Regions from separate parts of the Homo sapiens genome. Here region 1 is linked to region 2. Evidence: promoter capture Hi-C in human tissues and cell types (Jung and others, 2019). All regions are on one chromosome and are shown on one strand. The core of a region is centred on a gene start or on the middle of the fragment in contact, and the rest is flanking DNA. Distances in the headings are between cores, read along the strand shown. Region 1 overlaps RIC1 (RIC1 partner of RAB6A GEF complex). Region 2 holds the start of INSL6 (insulin like 6).

What was found. The method cuts DNA at HindIII sites, captures the fragments that hold promoters and counts their contacts. A contact is called where the count stands out against the background at its distance.
Region 1: a fragment that was not itself captured here is called in contact with the fragment with the promoter of INSL6 in region 2 in 1 of the 25 tissues and cell types used here (mesenchymal stem cells).

The regions. Positions count from the first base shown.
Region 1 is chr9:5,726,773-5,732,427 of GRCh38, forward strand. It overlaps RIC1 (RIC1 partner of RAB6A GEF complex), which reads left to right. Exons shown (of 26, transcript NM_020829.4): 7 at 5,616-5,655. Among named protein-coding and RNA genes, the nearest start is that of INCR1, 100 kb to the left of the region's middle. The HindIII fragment of the contact is 3,199 bases long and covers 2,807-5,655 here.
Region 2 is chr9:5,181,659-5,187,709 of GRCh38, forward strand. INSL6 (insulin like 6) reads right to left here and starts at 3,981. Exons shown (of 2, transcript NM_007179.3): 1 at 3,656-3,981. The coding sequence starts at 3,944. The HindIII fragment of the contact is 6,352 bases long and covers 1-4,806 here.

The DNA of each region.
Region 1 (5,655 bases), core at 3,156-5,655, 550 kb after region 2:
TGCTTGTCTGTAAAGGATTTTATTTCTCCTTCACTTACGAAGCTTAGTTTGGCTGGATATGAAATTCTGGGTTGAAAATTCTTTTCTATAAGAATGTTGAATATTGGCCCCCACTATCTTCTGGCTTGTAGAGTTTCTGCTTAGAGATCTGCTGTTAGTCTGATAGGCTTCCCTTTGTGGGTAACCCGACCTTTCTCTCTGGCTGCCCTTAACATTTTTTCCTTCATTTCAACTTTGGTGAGTCTGACAATTATGTGTCTTGGAGTTGCTCTTCTCGAGGAGTATCTTTGTGGCGTTCCCTGTATTTCCTGAATTTGAATGTTGGTCTGCCTTGCTAGGTTGGGGAAGTTCTCCTGGATAACATCCTGCAGAGTGTTTTCCAACTTGGTTCCATTCTCCCCGTCACTTTCAGGTACAGCAGTCAGACGTAGATTTCATCTTTTCACACAGTCCCATTTTTCTGGGAGGCTTTGTTCATTTCTTTTTACTCTTTTTTTCTCTAAACTTCTCTTCTCACTTCATTTCATTCATTTGATCTTCAATCATTCGATCAAATCGGCTACTGAAGCTTGTGCAGGCATCACATAGTTCTCGTGCGATGGTTTTCAGCTCCATCACGTCATTTTAGGTCCTTGCTACGCTGTTTATTCTAGTTAGCCATTTGTCTAATCTTTTTTCAAGATTTTTTGCTTCTTTGCAATGGGTTCGAGCATCCTTCTTTAGCTTGGAGAAGTTTGTTATTACTGATCGTCTGAAGCCTTCTTCTCTCAACTCATCAAAGTCATTCTCCATCGAGCTTTGTTCCATTGCTGGCAAGGAGCTGCGTTCCTTTGGAGGTGAAGAGGTGCTCTGATTTTTAGAATTTTAGCTTTTCTGCTCTGGTTTCTCCCCATCTTTGGTTTTATCTGCCTTTAGTCTTTGATGATGCTGACATACATATGGGGTTTTGGTGTGGATGTCCTTTCTGTTTGTTAGTTTTCCTTCTAACAGTCAGGACCCTCAGCTGTAGGTCTGTTGGAGTTTGCTGGAGGTCCACTCCAGACCCTGTTTGCCTGGGTATCACTAGCGGAGGCTGCAGAACAGCACATATTGCAGAACGGCAAATGTTGCTGCCTGATCCTTCTTCTGGAAGGTTCATCTTAGAGGGGCACCCAGCTGGATTGAGGTGTCAGTTGGCCCCTAATGGGAGGTGTCTCCCAGTTAGGCTACTTATGGGTCAGGGACCCACTTGAGGAGGCAGTCTGTCTGTTCTCAGACCTCAGACTCCGTGCTGGGCAAACCACTACTCTCTTCAAAGCTGTTAGACAGGGACATTTACGTCTGCAGAACTGTCTGCTGCCTTTTGTTCAGCTATACCCTGCCCCCAGAGGTGGAGTCTACAGAGGCAGGCAGGCCTCCTTGAGCTGCGGTGGGCTCCACCCACTTGGAGCTTCCCTGCCACTTTGTTTACCTATTCAAGCCTTAGCAATGGTAGACACCCCTCCCCCAGCTTCGCTGCCATCTTGCAGTTCAATCTGAGTTGCTGTGCTAGCAGTGAGCAAGGCTCCATGGGCATGGGACCCTCCAAGCCAGGCGCAGGATATAATCTCCTGGTGTGCTGTTTGCTAAGACCATTGGAAAAGCGCAGTATTAGGGTGGGAGTGTCCCGATTTTCCATGTACCATCTGTCATGGCTTCCTTTGGCTATGAAAAGGAATTCCCCGACCCCTTGCACTTCCCGGGTGAGGTGATGCCCTGTCCTCCTTGGGCTCACACTCCATGGGCTGCACCCACTGTCTGACAAGCCCTAGTGAGATGAACCTGGTACTTCAGTTGGAAATGCAGAAATCACCCATCCTCTGCATCACTCATGCTGGGAGCTGTACACTGGAGCTGTTCCTATTTGGCCATCTTGGAACCTCCCATTTCATCTTCTTAAAGAAATTTCTCTGGGAGCCTTCTGGCCTGCTCCAAATTAGACTGCTTGCTTACTATAATCTTTAACACAGCTGTTTTTTGGCCTTCTGTCATAATTATCCTGAGATTCCCTTTACTCTTATTTGTGTCGGATCTTTTAATAGCTAATAGCTAATTAATATATGGATTTGGCTGCTGTGACAGAGACCTAAAATTAAAATAATTTATTGAAAACTGTGAATTTTGGTTCGTTTGGTTTACTATGTCCTTTACCATAGGATGAGCTGACTGAGTTATTTACTTGGGGGTCCTCCTACCTTTAGAGCCATACCCTTCCCTCTGTCCCTCCCTTCTGCTCCCCTCTCCCCTCTCTGTCTCCAGTGTTCCTTGGAAAAGAGTCCTGCAGTCCTTTCTAGAGGATATATACTTGGCTACCCCAGTATTCTGGGATTTGAGTTACAGAAGAGTTAAGCTAGCGGGTCCAAATTCAAGATGTGAACCTTTATTTTCTATCCCTGTTTTCAGTGTGGTCCATAGGCCTCTGGTGGAGGTGGTAGGGGTGGGGGTGTTTTGTTTTGTTTTTCTCCAAAGAAAAATATCCAGTTTTCCGTAGGAGTGGAGGTAGGGTATTTATTGGCTGCTCAGCTTTGGGGAAGTGCTCTGGGAGGACCTGGTTGCTTCTTTAAGTAGGTTTTGAACCACTTCTACTACATTTAATTTAGCCTTTCAAAGACCCCTGAATTCCCAAGCCTTTCGTGTACCCTACAACTTAAATTTAGACGTTTCTCAGCATTCTTCCCTGTCAGTTAAGGATTCTACTCATTGATATGCTTTCCAGCTTCTAAAATTTTCTAATGCCGCCTCCTATTATTTTTGTCTTTGCTGCTTTATGTTTTTTTAAACAAAAACTCTTTTCTCTTCTAGAAGTTACAGTTTTAGGAGTCCAAGAAGCTAAATATTTATATTCAGTCATCTCTCTTTAACTGGAAAGGAATTTAAGTTTTTAATGGCCTTTTTTAATTGTTGTCATTCTGTTTGGTATCAACTTTAATATTCCTATCTACTATCTTCCGTTATCAACTTTATTCAGATAGTAAGGTACTAAATAATGTATTTGTGATCACCTGTGTCAGAACATAAATAAGAATAAAAATAAACTTTTGATGAATTAGAAAAAACTCTTTTTTTTTTCCTATAAGGTGCATATATATTTGTAATTATCTTTGGGACTTAAATGTTTAGACTGGAAATAAAAATATTAGAGCTGAAAAAGTGATTGACTCTTTTCCAAGTACTTTAGAGTTAGTACAAAATATATTCTCAGTGTTTATTAGTATGTAATTAAATAATTTTTTCTAATAAGTTAAGGATTTAAAAACTAATGAAAAGCAGATGGGCATTACTAAATAAGGTATAGATAGAAAATACAAATTACAAGAAAACAGTACCTATGTATTAATGGTAATAGGGAAATAACTAAATGACATTTAACAGATGTGTTAAAATGTGATTATGTCAGTCCTCTGTGGAGACTCATTCAGTAGGACTAGATTATTAGGACAGAACCTCCTGAGGACTAAAAGAGCTGGAGAAAAAATATATTTTTTAATATGCTTGAAGCCCTTAGAGAGCAAACAAGACAGTAAAGAGTTGCCAGACTAAGGGAGGCCAGCAATCCAGTGAGCTAAGCCCAATATTTAAGCCTACAATGAACATGAACAAATTAGGCTATATGCAACAACACAGATAGATCTTACAGACATGGTAAGCAAAAAACAGCTAGACACAAAGGAATACATGCTATGATTCCATTTTAGGTAAAAATTAAAGGGCAAATAATGTAGGCATTTCTAAATTAGAGTATATATGGGTGCATGTTTAAGTGGTAATGATTTAAAAGAAAGAAGGAGGTGATTACCATGTAAATCTGGATATTTTTTGTTGTAGGGGTGTGAGGATACAGTGATTGGGAAGGGCACTATTGGGAGACTTTTGGGTACTCATGATTCTTGGCCTGAGTAGCAATTCCACAAGTGTTTGCTTTGTGATATTGAGATGTACATTTCATTTTCATGTATTCTTTATTATAATTCATGACAGAAAAGTTTAAAAAATTTGAATATTCTTCTTCTATATAACTTGAAGAAAAAGCCAAAATTCTTATGGTGGCCTTCAAAGCCCTAATTATCTGACCTCCTGTTACATCTCTTACCACATATACTACTTTCCTTTCACAACCCATCCACTTCACTCTATCCACACAGGCTTCTTTGCTGGTCTTTGAGCATGCCAGAAATGCTCCTACATTAGGGCTTTTACACTTGTTTTATTTCTTTGAGGACTTTCCTCAAAAGGCATCCTTATAGGGAAACCTGTTTAATATTACATCCTTCCCCTGTACTCCCTCTTCACCAGCATTGCTTAATTTTTTTTGTATAGTATTTTTTAACCTCCAGTATTCAATATACTTTTTTAACTTGTCTGTCTCTTGACTCAAATGTAAAGCAAGCATACAAGTAGAGATTTTGGTGTGCTAGTATAGCCTCAGCACCTAGAGCAGTGCCTGGTGAATGGTAACCACCTAGAAAATACTTATTGTAGGACTGAATTTCAGTCTAAGCAGCAGTTCAGAGAAATAATGCTCACTGCTGTCTTTACCATTTGTGACATAAAATGTCCAGTTTTATTATTAAAATTAAAAGATACAATTCCTACTAAAGCAAAGATTCCGTGTTTAGATAGTAGATTATATAGCTGATTGTGGAATTAAATGAAATCTGTAGGATTCTAGTTCATATAGTTGTGATTATATTGTATCTTTAATGTTTACTATTAGGATCATCCAAAAATAAAGTGCTATATTATAGTGTGCCACTTTTTCTGCTAACTGAACTAATGATTATGACCTTTGCCTTGGAATTTATCATCTAAAATGTCTGTGATTTGACAGATAGGAGCAAACAACTGAGCTGAATCTATTCTCTATATATGGAGATGGCATATGGAAATAGCATATATGCTTACTAATAATGTCATTTATTTATTGAATGCTTGTTGAATGGTAGGCATTGTCCTAAATAGTTTACATGTGTATCTTCATTTAATCTTTGAAACACCCTGAGAGGTAAATACGATAAGAAAACTGAAGCTTAAAAAAGATCAAATACTTATTTTGAGGAGTGAAAGCAGTCCTGAGCTGTCAGGCTTCCAGATACCATGCTATTAACCATTACACTATAAAGAAGGGAATTGTAGAGAATAGTAAGCAATTTTGCTTCTAAAGAATAAACCAAACAGAATGTACTACTTTTCACTGACTGAGAAGTTAAATACTATGTGCTAGGTGATGAGAATAATTACAGTGAGCAAGTTAGATGCTGTTTCCGCTGTCAAAATGTTTACATTCTAACAAGAAAGTCATCTTTATTTGAATTTGGAGATGAATTTCCATATTTTAGTGTTTTTTAAATAAATTAACTAGCACTGGACTGAGCTGAGTATTTATCAGACCAATTCATGAGAAGTTTGAGGTTTTAAGGGAGACTATTTGGTAGTATTTTAAGGGAGACTATTGTGGTAGTCCTGGTGGGATATTTTCCTCTGCAGATGAAACCAAATAAAGCATTATGAAATTGTATGTTTATTGAAGGAGAATTATATTGACTACGGTAAATTTGGAGAAACACTTTTTAAGCCTTAACTATTTTTCTTTATTATAGCAGCTTCATGGAGTTTGGCCACAAGATGTTGTTGACGGAA
Region 2 (6,051 bases), core at 2,731-5,230:
ATGTCAAAATGGGAGAACATATTTGTGACATCTAAAACCAACAACTAGTTGTTACTGTATCTAGATTTGATTAACTCCTATAAACCAACTGGAAAATGATAACAATTCCAACAAGAATTGGGCAAAATATATAAACAGGAAATTTTAAGAGAAAATCCAAAAGGTTAACATGTATATGAAAAGATGTTCAGACCCAGAGCAAGTTAAAATAGAAATATAGTGTCATTTTACATCTATTACACTGGTAAAAGTTAATAACTGTATAATGCTAATTGTTGACATAGATATGAGGACACAGGATTGGTGGTGCAACTATACATTGGTGTAGTCACTCTGAAGAGCAATCTGATACTCCTCAGGCAAATTAAACATACACATACTTCATGACACAGCAATTCCACTCTAGATGTGTATCCCAGAAACACTTCTAGGTTCATAAGGGGACACATACAATGATGTTCATGGCAGTGTTATCTGTAGTGGTAGGGAGTTCAAGGCTACATAGGTTAGGTGTTCAAAACTGAATAAATCAGTAAAATGTGAGGAATGCACATGAGTATTATGCAGTAGTTAGAAGCAATGGACTAAATGTTCACATAGCAACAATAAGATATAGATCTTAAATGCCTTTTAGATATATCTTAAAACATATGAACAGGAAAGAATGCATAATTTGCAAAAACTTATAAAAACAAAAAATATATAATAAACACATTACAACAATTGCCAAGGAGAGGAGGAGAATGGGAGTGGAGAAAGGGGCTAAGTGAGGATAATCACCTTCTGTAAATTATAATTTACTTATGTTAATTGTCTATCTTTACTATTCTGTAGGCTTCATGAGGGTAGGAGCCTTCACCGTTTACTCTAACATCCCAATCACCAAGAAGAGTGCCTAACACATGATAGGTACTCAAATTTTGTTGAACTAATATATAAAGAGAAGGGCCCTTTACAGACTAGTTGTGATGATATCTGAAACATAAAGAAACAAAAAAAACAAGAATATGTGACATGAAGACTAAGAATATGGGAATATGATTAATCTAACTGGAATAGGGGTTACAGATTATGAAAAGCTGATTTTGAAACATTAATGATTTCACCTGGCACTAATATCTCGGAAGCACAATACTCAGTCGTAATTTAGAAATATGATGTCAACTTCATGGTGCCACATTACGGGGTAGGTCTTGGAGATACTGCCTCCACCTTCAGGGTCCATTAACAAGAAGCACACAATTACAGATTCAAGATATGTATAAGTAGCTTTGAAAAAAAGCATTTTTTAATAGCAGCGTAGCAAATTATATTTTTCTGTGTCAGACTCAAGTAGATCATCAGGATATTAAAATTTCAGACAACTGACTTGATCTAACACAACAACTTGTCCTGCTGGTAAAAGTGAAATAAAAAGTAATCAACTTTCCAGCCATATTCATATATAAAAATGATGTCATAATTATGTATTCTATATTAGAAACATATACATCTCTGCAACTTCTAAATTATTTCCTAGAAATTAACAGGACAGAATAAATGTCATCTTCCCTTATAGATTAATAATTTTTAAAATTATAATACAATTCATGTTGATAACCTAACCCATTTTTCCTTCCTCTACATATTTCAATACAACTGTGGTTTTACTGTTACATAGTATTTCCACTTCAGCAAACTGTCTTTTACATAGTTTCCATAGTAGCAGGTTTTGTGGGTATAACAATTTTCAAATATTTTCAGATACATTTTTATTTTCTACAAGTCTTGTTTCATTGCAGCTTCCTGCTCATTATTAATGACATTTATTCTTCCAGGGGAGTGTGAATAATACTTAAAACAAAAGGATCATTAACAAGCTGAGTTTTAAGGTTGAACATTTTTATTAAGAAAACTGTCTTTAGAGCACTTTGTTGAGAAAAGGCATTCCAACCTCTCTTTAAATAACAGCCTCAAGCTTGGAGGTCTAAAAATAAAATTTTGACTACAGTATTATAGCATAGGTAGTGAAAGCACAGTATTTGATGTGAGAGAAATGCCCACCCAACATAAAGCAGAAAGGGAAGGCTCTCCTTGCACTCCTGGGAGAAAAGAACAAGAAAGAGGAGTTTAAAAGAAAAAAAAAAGAGAGAGACAGACAGTAAACTGGACCTTGTTACTCAAAAGTGTGGGCCACGAACTAGCAGCACCTGGGAGCTAGTTAAAAACGAAAAATATCAGGCCCCACCCCAGGTCTACTAACTCAGAGTCGGTAAATTAACAGGATTCCCAAATGATTCATATGCACATTAAAGCGTGAGAGTCACTGAACTAAAGTAAAAGTAGAAGACTGGGGAGAGACACTTCCTTCATTATAACAGAAGGACAAGGTGAGGTTTGTATGTGGGTTAGTTTGATGGGTCGGTTTGAAAATGATCATGAATCAGTCTCATGGTTTCTGTCTTTAAAAGTTTTTATTCTTTCAGCAACAGTGACTTTATAAATTCTATTCATTCATTCCAAAAAAGCTAATGAGTGCCTACAATGTGCATTGTTTGACTTTTTTCAGTCCTCTACATTAGGGTCTCTTTTTGGCATGATAGTTTACTCATTTCCTTAATTTCAGAAATCTTCACTTTTACAAGATTTGTCCAAATCAAATCAACTGAATTACTGTAAAAGGCAGTAATCTTCTTCCTATGGATACACTATAAACAAAGTGCAATTTCTTTTAAAATGACAAATCATACTGGGACTAAAATGTCTTAGTCACAAAATGTAAAAACATAGTAAGATATACCAATGAATCTGGAACAAGAATATCCTTCCTGCAGACTGCTTGAAAGCATCAAGTATAAATTCAGCGCATATTAAACACATGCGATGTGCTAGGCCATCTGCTAAGCATTTCAGACAAAAATATGCATGAAATAGTCCCTATAATACAGTATGGTATATAGGGCTGACTTTATGGGACTGAAACCTATGTAGTCACACAGGCCTTGCATTTGGTTTAAATGTTCCTTTGTTGTTCTGAATAAATTTACCTTTGAAACTTTAAGTGAATGAAATACAAGTACGTAAACTCTTAAATGAAGCCTGATAGGAGAACGGACCAGGCCTATCTCCTGGTACGTGACCAGGGGATATGGACAAGTAAGGAAAACAGTTTTATATTTTACTACCTTTATTTTCATGGCCCTTTCCTGCTTTTTTGAACAAGGTACTCTGCATTTTTATCTTCTACAAGGTTGGGCTGATTCTGTAGCCAATGACGACAGTCAAATACAACTATGTGCTAGATACTGTGGTAGAAAGGACAATGGAGCCATTGGCCATGAAAAGGTCAATGATGACTTCACAGGGAAAATGATACTTAAGTTGGGCTTTGAAGGACAAAAAGGAGTTTGCCAGATGACTGGCACTCCAGAAAAGAACAACATTCTTACATAAATATGTAGACTTACAAGTGTACATTTATTTCCTCCAAGTTAAAAAAAAAAGCGCTTCATTGAAGTTTTGTATATTTTCAATACACTGTTTTTTACAATTTTTTAAAGAGCTGTGTACTAGGCACAAATTCCACTTCCTGGGGAAGCTCACCTTCTGGCAGAGCAAATGCAGGAATAAGAAATATACAGAGGTGAACAAACATGCCTTCGGTTTCGATTTTTACCTGGGTTTGTGCCTCTTCCCCGGGCCGGGGAAGCGGTTTGCGGGCTTTCGAACTGGTATGGGCTGTAGGCTTCGACCTTCTCCGAGGCCTGTGCAATCAACCGTGAGAAAGGGGTTTCCTCCTCGAAACGGAACTGGCTCCAGTTGGCATGGCCGCAGAGTTTTTCTATTTCTTTCACCAAGTACCTGCCGCACAGCTTCCTGGCACTGCTGATGTCGCTCAGTTCACGAGAAAACCGAACCAGCAGGAGTCCAAGCCACAGCAGGGACAAGCGGAGGAGCCGCGGCATCCCTGTGACCCCAGGCTAGTCCTCCGCGTTGTGCAATGGCGGTCGGCCGGACCCTGCTCCCTGTCTGCGCCTGCGCCAGGCCGAGCGGCGCGCACAAACACTGCGGAATTCCGAGCGCGTGGGGGCGTCGCCAGAACTTCAAGGGAAGGCGCGCGCCGGCTGCGTCAAGGCTTTCCCGCCAGCTCAGGGGTCTCAGGTGGTCGAAGGTAGCAGGCCCTGGCTCCTAAAATGAAAGCCAAAAATCCCCTCACTACCCCGCCACCCCCTAGTTTGATTCATTTTTCTTTCCTTCCTCAATGGGAGATTCCTCACCAAGCGTGAGAACATAGGATCCCTGTTACCTGATAACGTAGGTTAAAAAGTGTTGCTCCCTCCACCTGGAATGCGTTTCTCGTTCTTGTTTGCCAGGTTGTTAATAAAGCTTCGTCTCCCTCACAGAAACCCCCTGTCATCTCTTTCACGGTGTTAATCGACCTGTTTCCATTTGTGGGCGTGTAACCTCTTTCCTGAGACCCCCGCTTCATGAAGGCAAGGGCCTGCGTCTGTTCTTGCTTTCCATCGTACCCCGGGATCTGGCATTTAGCTGGCAATCAAATATGTGGTGAAACGTTTAAGTGTTGCATATGGCCATGTGCGTTTAGTCAGGTTCAAAGCTTCTTCAGAAAAATCCTACTGGTTCACAGGGAGGCATGGGCCTTAGCCTCAATCTCCAGAAAAAAGAAGTAGGGACGCTGTCTTGAGGTACCTGGGATGGAAATCTGGTTCTTTCGGTTAGATAATGTAGAGGATTGTGTATTACCAAATTAACTTGTGACAGGGACCCCTAGAGGATTTGCCTTGTAAGAATAACAGCATGCAGCATGAAATGCTCATTTAGGTGAGATAATTTTGCTCAGTTAGGAGGGAAGGGGCAGGGAAGCGAAGCGCAATCGGCATAGGTAGCTTTATCATTTTAAATGAAGTTCTGTGTTACTAGTGTGTTGGCGTGGAAGGATGTACTATCGGCCACAAGAGGGCATTCGGTGGCTGTCTCAGGAATAAGGTTCAGGATGCTGAAGCCACAGGTGCAAGCTTATCAGTGATCTCACCATTTCCCTATACAATTTTATTTTTTTCTCCCTTTCTTTTCTGTCTTCTGACTCTATGTCTTTTTCTTAATTTTCCGTTTCCCTATCTTTTCCCTGCTTCCCAGTGGCATCCATGAATGCTGTTAAATTAACTGCCAATTGGATTTTTTAAATGGTTGATATAATATAGATTAGTAAAATTTAATCACCTTCCTTAAAAAATAACTTATGTCCAAACTATAGTGGGCCATGAGTCCTAGTCAGAACTTTATCAGGTAAGGTTTTTGAGAACGGAAAATATTAATCATACTGAGATGAATGTAAGCCTTGTGGTAACCACAAGGCAAAACCTATAGTAGATATATAAAAGATAAAAAAGAAGAAATCAAGCATACCACTACAGGATATCATCTAATCACAAAGAGAACAAGAGAAAAAGAAAAGAACAAAGGATCTACAAAATAACCACTAAACAATTAACAAAATGCAGTAGTAAATTCTAACCCATCAATAACTACTTTGAATGTAAATGGATTATGTTCTTTGATCAAAAAACAGGGCTGAATGGATAAAAAAAAAAAGACTCAACTATATACTGCCCACAAGAGACTCATCAAAAGACTTGAACTATACTTTGGAACAAGTGGAGCTAACAGATATTTATGGGACATTCCATCCAACAGCAACAGAATACGCATTCTTCTAAAATGCACAGAGAACATTCACCAGAATAGATCATATGTTATGCTACAAAGCAAGTCCTAATAAATTTAGAAGAATAAAATAATATCAAATATCTTTTCTGGCCACAATGGAATGAAAGTAGAAATCAATAAAAGGAGGAACTTTTGAAAACTCACAAATATGTGGAAATTAAAGAACATGTTCCTAACTACCAGTGGGTCAAAGAAGAAATATAAAGGGAGTTTAAAAAATATCTTGAGACAGGCTGGGCTCAGTGGCTCATGCCTGTAATCCCAGCACTTTGGGAGGCTGAGGTGAGTGGATCACTTGAGGCCAAGAGCTCAAGACCAGCCTGG